Linked DNA regions of Homo sapiens: regions 2, 3, 4, 5 and 6 are each linked to region 1. Evidence: promoter capture Hi-C in 16 types of primary human blood cells and fetal thymus (Javierre and others, 2016). All regions are on one chromosome and are shown on one strand. Each heading gives the region's core, a stretch centred on a gene start or on the middle of the fragment in contact. The rest is flanking DNA. Distances are from core to core; before and after follow the strand shown. Region 1 holds the start of PIN4 (peptidylprolyl cis/trans isomerase, NIMA-interacting 4). Region 2 overlaps NHSL2 (NHS like 2). Region 3 overlaps NHSL2 (NHS like 2). Region 4 overlaps NHSL2 (NHS like 2). Region 5 overlaps NHSL2 (NHS like 2). Region 6 overlaps NHSL2 (NHS like 2).

What was found. Contacts are between HindIII fragments. The CHiCAGO score rates a contact against its expected background, and 5 or more counts as called.
Region 2: a contact is called between a fragment that was not itself captured here and the fragment with the promoter of PIN4 in region 1, in 1 of 17 cell types (neutrophils). The highest score is 5.6, in neutrophils.
Region 3: a contact is called between a fragment that was not itself captured here and the fragment with the promoter of PIN4 in region 1, in 3 of 17 cell types (neutrophils, naive B cells and total B cells). The highest score is 8.4, in neutrophils.
Region 4: a fragment that was not itself captured here is called in contact with the fragment with the promoter of PIN4 in region 1 in 1 of 17 cell types (neutrophils); the score reaches 9.0 in neutrophils.
Region 5: a contact is called between a fragment that was not itself captured here and the fragment with the promoter of PIN4 in region 1, in 10 of 17 cell types (neutrophils, monocytes, M0 macrophages and 7 more). The highest score is 18.2, in neutrophils.
Region 6: a contact is called between a fragment that was not itself captured here and the fragment with the promoter of PIN4 in region 1, in 2 of 17 cell types (neutrophils and M1 macrophages). The highest score is 6.0, in neutrophils.

Annotation. Positions count from the first base shown.
Region 1 is chrX:72,180,377-72,183,204 of GRCh38, reverse strand. PIN4 (peptidylprolyl cis/trans isomerase, NIMA-interacting 4) reads right to left here and starts at 1,448. Exons shown (of 4, transcript NM_006223.4): 1 at 1,377-1,448. The coding sequence starts at 1,419. RefSeq lists an enhancer at 1,189-1,408. The HindIII fragment of the contact is 4,711 bases long and covers 1,430-2,828 here.
Region 2 is chrX:71,967,314-71,970,128 of GRCh38, reverse strand. The region is part of intron 1 of NHSL2 (NHS like 2); the gene reads right to left. Among named protein-coding and RNA genes, the nearest start is that of NHSL2, 58 kb to the right of the region's middle. The HindIII fragment of the contact is 2,494 bases long and covers 266-2,759 here.
Region 3 is chrX:72,026,240-72,029,101 of GRCh38, reverse strand. The region is part of intron 1 of NHSL2 (NHS like 2); the gene reads right to left. Among named protein-coding and RNA genes, the nearest start is that of RTL5, 100 kb to the left of the region's middle. The HindIII fragment of the contact is 2,557 bases long and covers 46-2,602 here.
Region 4 is chrX:72,044,460-72,047,159 of GRCh38, reverse strand. All of the region lies in intron 1 of NHSL2 (NHS like 2), which reads right to left. It also overlaps the pseudogene RPS26P11. Among named protein-coding and RNA genes, the nearest start is that of RTL5, 86 kb to the left of the region's middle. The HindIII fragment of the contact is 3,461 bases long and covers 1-2,700 here.
Region 5 is chrX:72,005,948-72,008,673 of GRCh38, reverse strand. The region is part of intron 1 of NHSL2 (NHS like 2); the gene reads right to left. Among named protein-coding and RNA genes, the nearest start is that of NHSL2, 96 kb to the right of the region's middle. The HindIII fragment of the contact is 9,584 bases long and covers 1-2,726 here.
Region 6 is chrX:71,983,930-71,986,629 of GRCh38, reverse strand. The region is part of intron 1 of NHSL2 (NHS like 2); the gene reads right to left. Among named protein-coding and RNA genes, the nearest start is that of NHSL2, 74 kb to the right of the region's middle. The HindIII fragment of the contact is 1,866 bases long and covers 358-2,223 here.

The DNA.
Region 1 (2,828 bases), core at 199-2,698:
ATCCCCGCTCCTCATGTATCCTTGATGTTACCCTGCAGGACCAGCAACAGGTTAGAAATCCAATCCAGAAAACAGAATGATCGTTGATCCTCCCTCACCACCCCTCCCCAACCCAATAAATCACCAAGTCTTGACTATTTCACATCCTAATATTTACAGAATCTTTTCTCTTTTCTCAGTTCCCACAGCCACTCCCTTAGGTCAGTCCACCATCATCTCTCACCAAGACTACCACAACAATCTCCTTACAGGTCTTTCTGATCCTTAACTGTCCTTCTTAGCAGAATATATAGCACTCTCCATGATCTCGTCTTTGTTTCTGTTTTCATTCTCACCACTTGCCATTCTGCCTTGAGTTTTTGCTCCAGCAACACTACGCTGCACACATCATGCTGTTTCTCACCTCAGTGCTTTTGCTGCTGGACCCCAAGTAAGGAATGCTTTAACCTACCCTCAATGCACATCTTGACCTGCCTAATTCATCTCCAGGAAGTCTTCCGTTCCCTGTTCCCCAGCTAAATGAAGGACTTCCCTCAATTTCTATTATATCCCATACACATCCCTCAACACTACATTTAGTACAGTGCTTTATGATCACTAAGCCTTTATCTTCCTCACTACTTCGGGAGCTCCTTAAGGCCAAAATCTCTTTTTTTTTTTTGAGACAGAGGCTCGCTCTGTCGCCCAGGCTGGAGTGCAGTGGCGCGATCTCGGTTCATTGCAACCTCTGCCTCCCGAGTTCAAGCGATTCTCCTGCCTCAGCCTCCCGAGTAGCTGGGATTACGGGCGCGCACCACCACCACGCCTGGCGAATTTTTGTATTTTTAGTAGAGACGGGGTTTCGCCATGTTGGCCAAGCTGGTCTCGAACTCCTGACCTCGTGATCCATCCTCCCTCGGCCTCCCAAAGTGCTGGGATTATAGGCGTGAGCCACCGCGCCCAGCCTTCTGTCTTATTTGTGTATCCTCAGCGCTTAGCACTCTGCCTGACACATTTCTGTTCAATGGATGAATGATTCCTTCCCCGATGGTGGGCATGTCATTCTGTAAGCATTAAAGTGAACTTTAAGGACCATAACCAATGTGTACTTCCTATTGCTGGCTTTTGATAAGACCCAATTTTAGAGCTCTAATAACCCCTTGAAATAGCAGCCCTAAGTCATCGCCTCCGAGGAACTATCCCCATCAGATTCCATTACCCACTAGGACGGTCCCTGAACCGTAGCCCAATGTATTCCTACAGATGTAATCGATGGCAGCACTGTGGGGCCACTGGCTACCTGCTGCGTCCGTCCCGGACTCCGGAGATGGACTGTCTGTTCCCTCCCTTCGCTCCTCACCCGCCCCCATTCTCCTTGATCGCTCTGGCCGCTCTACCTTTCCCCGCTTTTCCAGAACCACTTTTTCCTTTGGGCGGCATCTTGGAAGCTTGTTGTTGAACGCTGAACCGCTCCAGTTGCCGTACAAGCCCCTTTAGAAGCCCCGCCATGGGCATGTCCTAAACAAATGCCTGAAAGCCGCATCTCAATTGACCGTTCTTATTGCGGCTCCGGAAGCAGGCACAGCTTGGGGCAGACCCCGTCCTTTGGCTCTTGGACCAATGGGGCTGAAGATGTCTGACCAATAAGACGCTTGGGCCGAAACAAAGGCAGAGGGGCGGAGACAAAGGCCGGATTAGGGCGGGAAGCCTGGCCTCTGCGCTTTTTGTGACTTCTTTCACGCACCCTAATTTGCACCAGATCCCCCACTCCCCACACTCTACGCCCGAAGCTCCCCCGTTCCCCTCAACCTGGCTTTTTTCACGCGTGCGCAGTAGGAGCCACGGGGGTGGGTGGCTCTGCAGTCCCTCGGCGCCAGCTCTGGCCAATCCCGCGGGGCCGCCAGACAAAGGGAAGCAGGAGTACTGTGGTGGCGGCCAACTTCCGCTGTCTCCTCCTACACACAGGGCTGCCCTCCCTGGCAGTTTTTCGTTTGTTAATTTTATTCTGCAGTTGTAGCTAATTAGGTTCAAAAGGTAGTTTTTAAAAAAGCCTGTCACCTTTTTGCGTCTTGCAGAGCTCAGTCATGGAGAAACATTGGAAGCAGTCTGAGTGCTCCTCAGTCGGGTACTGCTTAAATAATGTTTTAGCCACACAAGAAGATATTATACAACATTCAAAATAACGATTGTAAGGCTGTGTGTACAGATAGGGGAAATGTTTTTAAGACCAAGATAAAGAATATGATTCCTTGTAAAAGAAGTATATGTAATGTATTGTATGTTATATGAATATAAAGGAGAGGAAAGCTATAGAGCAAGATGTGGCCAGTGGTGCTAGTGCATACAGGTCATCGTGTTTGTTTCTGTGTATTTTCCAAAATTTCCATAATGGTGCAGCATAGTGTAGTAAAAGCATGGATTCTGGAGCCAGATTGCCCAGTTTCAAATCCCTGCTCCACATCTGTCTACTAGCTCCATGACCTTGAGGAAGTTACTTCACCTCTCTTTGGCTCAGTTTCATCATCTGTGAAATGGAGTTGATGATAATAGTACCTACTATTATCCTATCAGGTGTTAAGAGAATTAAACAAGTTCATATCTGTAAAGCACATAAAATGATGGCTTGCTCATATTAATAATGTTTGCCTAAGATAAATGATTTTTGAATTTGTGCCCACACACTTTTTCTCCCCTTACAATCCCTCCCACCATCAATAATTTGTATATGATATGTCAGGGCGTTTCCTCCAGTCCATGAGAGAGCTGTCCTAGCTTGCCACTACCAGCCAGAATATAGAGGTCTTCCAGCTCAGAGTTTAGTTTTTGGATGCAGCCTTGCTGGACCTGGA
Region 2 (2,815 bases), core at 263-2,762, 210 kb after region 1:
AAGATTATACATGAACAAAAGAGATTTATCCCAGGAATTTTAAGTTGGTTTAACATCTGAAAATGAATTAAAAATCATTAGAATAAAGGGCCAAAACCACACGCTGATTTCAACAGATGCAGAAAACTATCTGACAAAATCTAACACCTGTTTATGATAAAAACACTCAACATACTAGAAATAGAAGGAAACATCCCAACCTGATAAATGCATCTACGAAAAACCCACAGCCAATACCATACTTAATGGTGAAAAACAGAAAGCTTTTCCCTAAGACAAGGGTGTTTGTTCTCACTACCTCTGTTCAGCATTGTAATGGAGGTTCTAGCTAGAGCAATTAGTTTAAAAAGAAAAAGAAACAAAAGGCATACAGATTAAAAAGGAAGAAGTAAAACTATCTCTATTTGTAGATAATATGACCTTGTATATAGAAAATCCTAAGGAAACCACTAAAAATCTATGAGAATTAATAAACAAATTCAACAAGTTTGCTAAATGAAATTAAGAAAACCATTTGGCCGGACGTGATGGCTCACGCCTGTAATCCCAGCACTTTGAGAGGCTGAAGCGAGTGGATCACCTGAGGTCAGGAGTTCGAAACCAGCCTGGCCAACATGGGGAAACCCCGTCTCTACTAAAAATACAAAAATTAGCCATGCGCAGTGGTGGGTGCCTGTAATCCCAGCTACTGGGGAGGCTGAAGCAGGAGAATCGCTTGAACCCAGGCGGTGGAGGTTGCAGTGAACCAAGATTGCGCCATTGCACTCCAGCCTGGGCAACAGAGCGAGACTGTCTCAAAAAAAAAAAAAGAAAAAAAAAAAAGAAAAAAAGAAAACCGTTCAACTTACAAAAGCATAAAAAAAAAGGAGGGATAAATTTAACAAAAGAAGTAAAAATTTCTTACTTCGAAAACTAGAAAACATGGTTGAAAAAATCTTAAAAGATATAAATAAATGGGAAAACATCTCATGTTCATATATCAGAAAATTTAATATTGTTAAGATAGCTACATGGCCCAAATTTATCTACAGATTCAACACAATCCCTGTGAAAATCCCAGCTATCTTTTTTGGCAGAAGTTGACAAGCTGATCCTACAATCCATATGGAAATGAAAGGGGCTCAGAATAGCCAAAATGTTCTTGAAAAAGAACAGCAAACTTGGGGGATTTATACTTTCCAATATCAAAACTTACCACAAAGCTACAATAATCAAGACTGCATGGTGCTAGCACAAGACTAGATATTTAGATCAACTGAATAAGCAAGAGATGATAAAGAAACCCTAAAATTATGGTCAACTGATTTTTGACAAAGATATCAAGATAATTAAATGGGGAAAGAAAAGTCTTTTTAACAAATAATTCTGAACAACTGGATAGCCACATGCAAAGGAATAAAGTAGGACCTCTATCTGAGATTATACACAAAAATTAAAGAAGATTATAGACTAAATGTAAAAGCTAAAACTATAAAACTCTTAGAATAAAACATGGAAGAAAATCTGCATGATATTGGGTTAGGCAATGATTTCCTACATATGACACCAAAAACACAAGCAAAAAAAAAGATTGACAAGTTAAACTTAATCAAGGTGAAAAATTTTTGTGCATCAAAGGATGCCATACAAAAAAGGGCAGAAAGAGCTCACATTACATAAATATTTATTGCAGCATTATTCATAATATCCAAAAAGTAGAAACAGCACAAATGTGTATCAACTAGTAAATGGATAAATAAAATGTGGTATAGCTATAAGATGGAATGGAATATTATTCAGCAGTATGAAATGAAGTGGCAGGTTCCACTTCAAGCATGACAGTGTGAAGAGCAGTGGCTCATGCCACTGCTCTTTGTCATCCCAGCACTTTGGGAGGCCAAGGTAGGAGGACTGCTTGAGGCCAGGAGTTCCAGACCAGCCTGTGCAACATAGTAAGACCCCCATCTCTACAAAAAATTAAATAAATTAGCCAGGCATGGTGGTGTGTGCCTGTGGTCCCAGATACTAGGGAGGCTGAGGCAGGAACATTGCTTGAGCCCAAGAATATGAGGTTACAATGAGCTATGATTGTACCACTGCACTCCAGCCTGGACAATGGGGCAGAGACCCTGTCTCTTAAAAAAAAAAAAAAAGATTGACTTCCGGTTAACATGCACGCAGCTTAGAAGTCGCTCCCCATCCTAACAAGTAAAAAGCTGAACACACTGAAAAATCAATACCTCTTCTTAGATTAATCAGAGAAATGAGGTCACAGGGCAAACCTCTGCCCTCAAAATTAGAGACAGACAGATGAACACAGAGAATCACAACTCATGGGAAGAGAAACTCATGAACAGAAATCAGTACTGGAGTAGGAAAACCTGAATTGTAATTGATGAATTGTTGGATGCTCAGTGAGGATAAATCTGACAACAGTTAATACTTTTTTATGGGCCATAAAACACACTTTTACAAGTTTAAAGGAATAGCAATCATATAATGTCTGCTCTCAGACTACAATGGAATTGAAATAGAAATCAATAACAGAAAGACGTCTAGAAAATCCTGAAATACTTGGAGATTAAACAATATATTTCTAAATAAAACATGGATCAAAGAAAAAATCTCAAGAGAAATACAAAATATATTGAACTAAATGAAAATGAAAATATATCAAAATTTGAGGGATGCAGCAAAAGCAGTGCTTAGAAGGAAATTTATAGCATGTACATATTAGAAATGAAGAATGTATATATTAGAAAAGAAGAAAAACCTAAGCTTCCACCTTTGGAAAATAGAAGAAAAAGCGAACTAAACCCAAAGTAAGCAGAAGAAA
Region 3 (2,862 bases), core at 75-2,574, 150 kb after region 1:
CTATATCATACACACATACATGCTTGTCTATGCCATGCCTAAGCTTTCCACACCCAAAGGACCACCCAAGAGCCAGTATTCCCAACCCTATCCCTTCCCCAACAGCCAGGTGGCTGAGATCCCAGCATGCCTCCTGCCCAAGTTATGACAACTTACTTAAATCACAAAGACCAAAGTCCTTAGATGTTCTTGGCAAATCCAAACAACGCTTGGTCCACATATGATGCTGAGGACCCAACCAGGGGCCCAGCTCTACCGACAATGTCCAAAGAAGGCCTGGGCCACCCCTTCTGTCAGGGAGGGGTTAGGCTGAACTTGTGGATCCCTGTTGTTTCCTGACCTTCAAAATCCTTCCCAGTGGCTGAGGTAATGTTTGGGACCCAGGCCCAAATCTCTTTCAAGAGAGAGTGTTGTCAAATGAGATGTACCCACTCTAGTGCCAACAATGTCAGCACCTATCATGACCTTATCATGTCACCTCAGTACACTAGAAGCTAGTGCCCCTTCCTCTCTCAAATCAGCTGAGGGGTGAGGGAAAGGGAGGAGTAGAGATCTGGGGAAGGAGGCCAGGCGGAAGGACCTGCTGCCATATTGGATTGCTGGTTCCCTGACACCAGTGACGGGCACCAATAGGCATTTAACTGATGCTTGCTGATTAAATACACAAATAAATGAATGAATTATTCCTAAAATAATAGGGGAAAACATCCTTGAGCTCACAGAAATCTCGAGCTCTCCTTGAATCTCTATCACAAACCCAGTTTGCCTTCTCTACCTCTTCCTTTGTGCTTCCCCCTTTCAGCTGAGTAGCATTAAGTCATTTTCCCTGAAGTGTAAACTGAAGTCCTTAAAAGCTAAAAGCCTTGCTTGTAGTCATCCAACAAAGTTGAAAAAAGTAAGCCCAAGAAGACCTTGAGTGGCTCCTGGCCCACTGCACATGCAGCTGGAGCAGACTGAATCCCATTCACCTTAGCTGAGTGGTTCCATGCCACCAGAGTCACAGATGGCTGGGGCTGGACATGTTGCCATCTGCTTTTCTCATAGGGTTCCTAGCACCCTCTGGCCTCCATTCCTCTAGCAGCAGCAGTGGCAGCAGCAGCAGCAGCGGCAGCAGCAGCAGCAGCAAACTCAACACCTCACACTCCTAAACTCCCACCCATCATGGGTTTGGTAGGCAACTCACGAGGGTGGAGGTAGGCCAGGCTGCATGGACCAAGCCTCCTTCTGACCCTTAATACAAAACCCCTAGTGGAGTCACCAAAGCCCACCCATCTCCTTCCTGCCTCGGTTACCAAGGTTCTCGGAGGTCTTGAGAGTTCCCTTCCGCCTCCCACAGGGTCTGTGTTGGACACTCCCCAGACTTCCCTGACAGGGTGAAGGTTAAAATGTCCAGACCACGTACCTACTCATTCCAGCCACTTGTCCAGCTGTCCTCCAAACTGTGTGCTCAGGAGCTGAAGGAGGGACCAGGTGAGAGGACGAGGCTGCTGGGGAAAGCCCTGGGCTCTGGAACCTCCTGGCCAAGTTCACCAAATTTCCAGACGAAGGACGGAGGAGAGACGAGCAAATGAGAGAAAGGAAAGGAGGCAGGACCAAAGCTAACCCCTTCTTTTTTCTTCCTAAACTCAATCCAGATTCGCCTTCTGAGGGCTGCTTGAAACTGATCCCCGCGGCTCTGACTCGTCCTTTCTTAAAGACATAGTCTCCGCTTTGGAGGTGGGGAGTGAGGAAAACCCCACCTAGCCAAAAGATGTCCAGGAGCAAAAGATGGGGGGAAGGCAACATAAGCACGAAACTCAAAATGCCCCATGCCCCAACTCCTGATCCAGACTCCAAGCTGGAGCCTTACTGGAAGTTCCTTCAGAGCAGCTGACTCAAGATCTCTGCTGGATATCATGAGAGACCCTGTCAGAGCCACAGGGCTGTAGTGGGAAGTGGGCCAGTTTCCTGGCACTGGCAGATTAGGGACCAAAGCTGAAGTCTCAGGGTGTGTAGGGAAGGGAGCACTGGACAGGGAATCCTGTCTCTTCTGCTACTCCCTGTGGCACCATAGGCCAACCACTTTCCTCTTCTCCTCTCAAACACAGTTTCCCTTCTTCACACATTGAAAAGATCATCACTGCAGCCCTGCCCAGCTCCCAAGTTGCTGAAGTCTCCTCTTATAACAAAAGGTAGCACACTTGGGGAACTGGTGTCTGACCCTGGCATGCTGTACTGCTCTGGCTGGCAGATATTTACAGAGACCAGAGGTGGGACTTTCTGCTGGGTTGGGTGATGGTGGAATCCGGATGTGATCTTATGAGTGGGTAGATGGGGAGTCATTTTGTATGTGTGCCAGGGGAGGAGGTGGAACAGACTGTCTCTCGTGTTTCTTACAAGGTGTTAACAACTTATCAGGATCTGCCATTTGAGGGTGCAGAAAGAGGCTGTGAGTACATCCTTACAACCTTATCTCGCCCTCACCTCCATATTTCCCATTTCCTTCTGCAGGAAAACCACCTAGGCCATTGGCCTGGCAGGGCCTGGGACAGCCTCTGGCTGTGGTGCCTTCCCCATAGCTCTTTCTTGCTGCAGGCTCCAGCTCCCACTGTTTCCTAAAGCTTAAAGCTGCCCACCTCCTCCCCATGCCTGGGCTTCTGTTCTTTTTCATCCTGTCTGCAGAGCAGGGCATGATCTCTGAGTTTCTTCTTCCTTCCTTGTTGTCCCCAAAGAGCAGCACACAGGCCCTTTTCCTTCTGAGGCCATGGTTCTCAGCTTTGTCTCCACTTTAGAATCTCCTGAGGAGCTGCAGAAAAAATACTCCAACTCCATCCCCATCCCTAGAGTCAGATTCCAATAGTCTGGGATGAGGCCTGGGCAGCG
Region 4 (2,700 bases), core at 178-2,677, 140 kb after region 1:
GTGAGATGTGTATGTTGTGGCCAGGGGTGGGGGTGCTGGGAGGGGAAATAAGGGTGCAACCATGTTTTAACTTCACCACCTTCAAGGTGAATGACAGCTATTGTGTGTGCTCATCACAGTGCATTTTGAGTTAAACAAACCTAAGTTTTAATTCCGGCTCTGCCACTTATTAGCTTTGTGACTTTGGAGATGTCACTTAACCTCTCTGAATCTCAGTCTTTCCATCTGCACAACTCTGTTGTTACTAATAACAATACCAAATTAATAATGTTGTTTGGGGGCTTAAATGAAAAAAGACTTACAAGAGAAACCAGCCCAGTGCAGCACAGCGGCAACTCATTTATCTGCTCCATCTGAATCTTGCTCTGGGCCAGCAAAAGGTGCTTTGCCAGCAATGTAAAGACACCGAGAACCAGAAACACATGGCAAAGGTGATCCCTGAAACCTTTCTCTGCAGTGTCCGTCCTTGAAATGTCCCCAGGGAAGAGAGCATAATCCTCAGTCTAGGACTTGGGAGCCAGAATCCAGATGGCATGGCCCATTTATCAGCACCACCAGACTCTCAACTTTAATAAGCCTTCTGCATTAGTAACCACAGGAAGAGGAGGAAATGGGCTAGATTCCTTAGCGATAATGAGCACTGCCGGCTCACTTTTATATTGGCAAAGTGCATCGTGATCACTCTGATTAGTTAGTTTGCTCTCATATCAGCCCTCAGGAGGTACAAGGAGTATTTTTCTCTTTGTTTTAAAGATGCAGGAACTGGGAAGCACAAGCTGTCTGCCACTTGCAGCCCTTGGCCTGGTCAATGCCTCTACTCAGTATATGGAGCTGCCTTATGGCTCTTAGAATTTTAGGGATGAATTTTAGAGTCTAGTGCCATTTAGTACTTTTCTGGGAAGACAGGTTGCCTGGTGTTGTCTAAGAGATTCTGTCCTTTACCTATCAGACGAGGTTGTGGGCCGGCCTAGGAGCAAAGAAACTCCAAACCTTAAAAGGTTAGAAATGCAGGACCTAGGGAATTCGGGGAAACAGACCAATGAAAGTGCTTAGCAACATCCCAGGACCAATGCGGGTGAGCCCCTCTGTTTCCATGAGACAGTCTTGATTTTCATTGGCCATGAACATGATACTGTCTCCCTGAATGAGGGTGAGGGAGTGGGGGTTGTCTGCAGCTCTGTTTAGGTGTTTATACCTGTCTATGAAGGGAGCTTAAGAAAACTGGGGGAGTTCCCATTTGGGCCCTTGGCACTGGGAAGTTCTCAGTCATATCAGAAAAATGAAAGCAGTTTGGCAGACTTTTACTGTTGCCATATCCCTGCACAAATGCAAATTGTGCGGGCCATAGGTATGCGGTCTGTACACAATACGAAAAGGCACACATGGTCATCTTAAAGCTCTGAGTGAATAAAAAGCTATTTATATGTCAGTCTCTGCCTGGCCAAGGCCTGTCTCCGTAAGCAGGGAAGGTCAAAGCCCTTCTTCCTGCTCAACTGGCCCTGCTCTGGAATCAGAGTGAATCCAGTCTGACCGGGGACTGGGGGGTTCCCTCCTCAGAAAGTGGTATAAGAGGGGGACTGCAAATAGTGTATGCTGCCCTGGGTGATGCCTCTGAGCCTGGAAGCAAGCTGAGCCCCAGAGGCCACGGGGGCCTCCCACCTCCCACCACCCCTCCACCCCTGCCACGAGGGGCTGGTTTTCCTGACTGGCCACTGTGTGTCGGGCCAACATCCTTGGTCTCTCCAGCAACCCCACCACAAGGGACCTGGCACCTAGTCCTGAGCCTCAGCTGGCAGCTGGGGAGCCACGCTGGTCTGTCTGGCTCCTGCCAGCCCCTCCTTCCCTCATTGCTGGGACTCTGCTAATCCCTCCCATTGTATGCCCAGGACTGCTATTTCACCCTGCTCCCCTGCACTCCCCAAGTACAGTCATCTGTAGCAGACCTGCCTTGAGTGTTTCCCACACCCCTGTGACTCTTGACATTGTATTCAGACTGCTTCTCATGCCCTGACTTGGGCTGTTATGTGTGCTAGATGCTGGGAAGGCTGCTGGGTCTTAGTTGTCTCCAGCTCCTCTTCCCAGTGTCAGCTTGGACCCTGATGGCCAGATAGCTCCACGTGGGGGCTTCTAGCATGCTATGCAGCCAGTGCCACATCAGTTAGAAAATTACCTTGGGCCACTCTTCTTTTTTTTTTTTTTTAAGTACAATTTCCATTTTATTTTTCTCCAGAGAATAGCCTGTCTTCAGTCTTTAAGAACTCAGCTCCTTACATGGGCTTTGGTGGGGGACGTGGGGCAGCACCCGCAGGTCTAAATCGGGGTGGGGGTGTTCGGTCCTTGCAGGCTTCACGAGATCGATTCCTGACTACTTTGCTGTGAATTGCACAACTCACACAGTAATGTAGCTTCACATACAGCTTGGGAAGCACATAGGCATCGAAGACGCTCACTTCAGAAATGTCCCTGACTGCTGCGGCCTCCACTATGTTTCGAATGACGAATTTCTTAATGGCCTTGTCTGTGGGCACGCATCGGACACAGTTAGTGCAGCGAATAGGCTGCACGTGGCCGCGGCCCTTTTTGGCATGACTGTTGTTCCTTCTTTTCTTTGTCATCTTGGAGGCATGGACCGGAGAGAGCGGGCCACTCTTCTTATGTAATCATTAGAGTTCTGTGGGATCCCAAACCATCCAGGAATGT
Region 5 (2,726 bases), core at 152-2,651, 170 kb after region 1:
ACTGAAAGTTCTGTTATGCAGCAAGATTTCAGAAGGTCTTGCATGCAGCATGATAATCCTAATACCCTATCACATGTGTGGGACATACAACTCTGTGCCAAGGTTCAATTCAAAGGGTTTCTAGACTGTTCCTGACTCCAGAACAACTCCAGAAAACGATCATCATCGGTTTTCTAGCCAACTTACCCCACCCCAAAGCCGCATCTCCATGGGGTGGTGCTGGGTGCCATTTTGTCCCCTGCTCTAAACCCCTTATTGGCTCCAGCCACTCTACCTCCATTGGCTCCTCCACGAATTGGCTTAAACATGTCACATCAGAATTTTGGAAAACACTGTCCGCAGCCTGTCCTGTCCATACCTCCTGTCCTCTACTCACCGACTCACAGGTTGACAGCAGACAGAACACGTCCAACCACTGAGCAGATAGGGACGTGGGTCACACAGTCAGTCAGAACAGAGTGTGGGCAACAACTCAAAGGTGCCAATATTTTGATAAAGATTTTATAATTTTCCTGGGAAAACAGGCAACTGTCAATCATATGCAGGTCATTGAAAGGGAAGAAAAAATGGAAAACTTGGCCCCATAGGCTGAAAGCCTCCAGCTTGAAATACCTCCTGGGAGCAAAAGTACCCTGGTATTTTTTGGTGCACAGTGTTGATTCTCAGAATGAGACCTGTTGCTTCATATTCACGAACTCCCCCAGCAAAGGCACCCAGCTGGAAACTGGAGAAAAGCACATGATTCTGAGGGCTCATTCCAAAGCCAGGAAAAACTGATGGTATTTTGTTTATGTTCAAAGAAATCAATCCAAAGAGATCAGCCCCACAGCCAAAGTCAGCCAGAATGGAGAGCAAACTGCTGCCAACCTCTGGGTCCTGGCCCGCTCATCAAGGGGAGAGGATGACCTTCATTGGAATCTGGGATCCAAGACTTTCAAGCGGTGTGCCCTTGGGCAAGATTCTTAACCCTCCTTAGGACCTTGATTTTCTAATCTGTAAAACAGGGCTAATTGCTACCTCACAGAGTTGCAGTAAAGATCAAATGAGCTTTTGTGTGTCTGGCATAGCCCCTGGGATACTAGCTGCTCAGTATGTGTTAGTTCTCTTCTCATGCCCACCTTTCTTTGGCAAGAGCCAGGCCAGTGATGTGGGGCAACTCTGGGGTTCCAGTGGTCCCTGGTGCCCTTAAGAAGAACTCTCTGAGGGATTCTGCAGCTCTTACATGGCAGTGCTGCTTTCTGCTCTTTATTAAAAGGGCATCCCCGGGTAGCTGCCATTTGATCCCAGCAGGACATGGTTCCATGCACAGCTTAGCACCAAAGGGCACTAATGCCTATTAATTAACTGTACATTCAGCTGACCTGCCAAAGCAGCTGATTTTATTTTCAGAATCCCAAATGTTTTCTTATTCCACTCTACCATACCTGAATCCTTTATGTATGTGAACCACCAATGCAGACGTTTGCTCTCCCCCACTTTCTTTCTCTTTCATCCTCTCAGCATCTCCTCTCTTCTCCACGCTGCTCCCTCTGCCTGTCCCTTGCCTTGGCTCCTTCTCTTTCCTAGCTCTTCCACAAACCCTCATCCAAAGACAGTACTTGTAGGGAGAGAGCAGGTAAAAGTGGCTCAAGTAGATCCATGGTGAGGTTTGAAAGAGACCATTCCACTTCCTCTTTGCCCTGCCATACCAGCCCATCCTCAGCCCCACTTTCTTGTCCATTCACACTGGGCTGGGCAATGGAATTGCAGAGCAAAACGAGTCATGGTCACTGCCCTCAGAGTCTTGTGGGAGAGACTTGCAGTCCCATGGTGTATACGAAAAACTGGATGGCTAGGAGCAGTGGCTCATACCTGTAATCCCAGCACTTTGAGAGGCCAAGGTGAGAAGATCTCTTGAGGTCAGGAGTTCAAGACCAGCCTGGGCAACAGAGCAAGAACCTTTCTCTACAAAATTAATTAGCCAGGCATGGTGGCACATCTGTGGTCCCAGCTCCTCGGGAGGCTGAGGCAGGAGGCTCATTTGAGCCCAGCAGGTTAAGGCTGCAGTAAGCCGTGATGGCACCACTGCACTCCAGCCTGGGCAACAGAGCGAGAGCTGGAGAGGAGGGTGCACAGAGGTGGGAAGGCATCTGCCTGCCTCTGAGGGGTTGGGGAAATGCAGGAGACTTGCACTGGGCCTTGATGCCTGAGTGAGATTTTTCCAAATGGAAAGAGGGTCAAAGAGCATCCCAGGGGTGGAGATAGCATGGAGGAGAGGAAGGCAGTGTGTATTTGGGGTTCTGTGTAGCCACACAGTAAGGTCTGAGAGACGGATAAACCATGAACCTGGAAAGGGGAACGCGGAGCCAACTCACCAAAGATGTGTCAGGTTGGTGGGAAGCTGGATCGCAGTGGGTGAGAATGCAAGGCTAAGCAGTTTGGACTTGTTGAATGTTGGGAAGGGACATGATGAAAGCCATGTTTTAAAAAGAAAATTCGGACAGGCAGAGAGACCAAAAGCAGAAAGGAGGCCAGTAAGGAGATTGCTGCAGTGGTCCTGTCACAAATTGAAGTCCTGAAACAGGGTGCTAACCATGGGAACAGAAATGAGGAGGCAGAGAAGAGATACCACTGGGGCCTACTTTCTCTACCTCTGGACTTATCCTGGAGTCATTCTGCAACTTTCCCAACACCTTCTCCCTGGATAACCTTAATGGAACCTGGGCCTCAGGTCTAACTCCTACCTC
Region 6 (2,700 bases), core at 41-2,540, 200 kb after region 1:
GTTATTTAAAACTAGCTTTGGCATGAAAAATGCACTAATGCAAATATGAAATTTGGTTTTCTGTTTCAAAAAAGATTTTTACATAATATGAAAAGATAATGAAAGGTTTTTGTCTATGACTTTGGATAAATGGCAGGGAAAAAGGGAGGGGAAAAAGAAAAGACAGATTCAAGATTCAATTGGCCTCATGCTGTCTTTATTGGGTCTTGTTTAGAAAGCTGATTCTCTCCTCTCTTAGTGAGTATGGGGTTTTGCCTTTTTAAAATATTTATCATTTTGGTTAAATGAGTGACTTACGGTGACCTGGGATTCTTTTTATAATATCAAGTGACTTAAGCCTTTAATATTTGATAAGCTTTCCAAAGTGAAATTATAAACTATGACTTTTTCTGACCTAATTAATCTTTTAGATATTAGGTTGCCTAAAGTCCAAAAGTGACATTTGGCTTATTTGGTATAAAAGTCATACAGGAAACATTCTCAAATATAAGATGGTGTTTGGCTTTTTTGGGCTGTATTTCTAGAAATATGTTATTGGTATGTGTTCAAAATTATGGGAAACTCTTATAATCCTAATATAACTTAGCATATATTATCAGTAATAATTATAATTATTACATAAAATCATTGTGTGCCGTAGAGGTAACCAAATTTCTTTGTCAATCATGTTTTTGGCTGTGGCTGCCCTAAGACATTTTGTCATCCACAGGCAATTGTTGTCTTGTTTTGATCCTCTTTAAAAGGTGGTTTATAATCAGCTACAGGACTCTAACAGGTGTTCTTGAATGCAGGTTTCTAATAACTTTGGAGATTATGACATTAGAATAGAGGAAAAACTTTCAAGACTCATGGAAAGCTGAAATGTTCATGAATATAAAGCAGAACAGGAGTTGACTGAATGGACTGACCTAATAGAAGACTGAAGCAATCTTTTTTAACTTAGCTTAAAGCATTGCGGATCCTTTTGTTTTGTTTTTCAGAGTCAAAGAAACTTTTCTTTTAAGCTATTTACAGCTTTTAACAATTGAGTAAAGTATATTCCTGGGAATAAAACTTGGAGCATATTTGTTTCTCTCTACCTGATTTCTCCAGAATTTGGAAACTAGTTGTGAGTGTTCTTAACTTATAGCAATAGTTATTTGCATAAGTGCAATAAGAATCTGTTTTCTTTTGCAACAGGACACAATTTGAGAAACTGGTTATTTTACCAAGGCTTTGAATGGAATGGTGTGCTTTCCTTTAAGGAATCAAACTTGACTTATAGAGCCAATAAAAGCCCCTTGGGAAACTGGCCTCATACCTTGTCTACACAGTTCCTGTACAAGGTTCCTGACCTGTGGTAAGTTTAAAGAATGTCACCTTCTGACAGGCCCAGGAGCCCCAAGTTATCTTGGGACCTCAAGGGGAGAGGGATTTACTCAACTTATGGGTATTTGAGGGCACAAATCCATGGCTGGGCTCGGCTTTAAAAAGATCTGAGATTCCATCTATGAAACAGAGCTCCATCAGCCGGGCACGGTGGCTCATGCCTGTAATCCCAGCACTTTGGGAGGCCAAGGTGGGCGGACCACGAGGTCAGGAGATCGACACCATCCTGGCTAACACAGTGAAACCCCATCTCTACTAAAAATACAAAAACTTAGCCGGGCATGGTGGCAGGTGCCTGTAGTCCCAGCTACTCAGGAGGCTGAGGCAGGAGGATGGCATGAACCCGGGAGGCAGAGCTTGCAGTGAGCCGAGATCGTGCCACTGCACTCCAGCCTGGGCGACAGAGCAAGACTCCATCTCAAAAAAAAAAAAAAAGGAAAGAAATAGAGCTCCATTAAAGCCAATTTAAAAAGGGCTTATGTGAAAAATAATTATTCTTGCTGCACTTTATACAAACAGTCCAACCAGGTATAATAAAGCAAATCAGTCTTACCATGATTTACCTTTAGTAAAAATGGGAGACTGGAGAGAGAAAAAATTATGTTTCAAGAATTGTGGTATACCTGTTATTAGCTTTTAGTCTCATTAGTTGTTTTTAAGTATTTTTCTGCAATTTATACTGACTCTGCTTATTCCTGTGAATCATCCAGTGATCTCTGACTGCTTCTCAGAAGAAACAAGAGGGATGGGTAATGTAAAAATCTGGATCAGTATTCCAATTCTGGGCACATATTGAAATTGGCTAGCAACCCCATATTAGCTTGGTTCCAACAAATGCCTAGTTCATGGAAAGCTTTCTAATTTAGTTTACTAGGGACAATTTTACTTATTTTGCTTTACTATTGTGGAATATATTGCTGTTGTACTCTTTGTGTAGGAATGCAGGATAAGCTTACCGAATGTTTTCTTACATTGAATACTTATTAATCTTCAAGATATCACCTTTTGTCAGAACTCAGAATTGTGAATGGCCCATGACATACCAATGCTTTCTGACTGAGCTCCTCTCTACCCTGATTGCAAGAGATCTAATAGTTAGACAGGAATATCATCACCGCTATTCATTAGAAGATGGATCTTTGTCCCTCTGCAACCCTTAGGATTAAGGGTTCTCTTATAAAAGTGAGGGGGGAAATGTCAGAGGTGTTTGAACCACAGCAACTCCATCTTGAATAGGGGCTGGGTAAAATAAGGATGAGACCTGCTGGGCTGCGGTCCCAGTAAGTTAGGCCTTCTTAGTCACAGCATGAGATAGGGGGTCGGCACAAGATA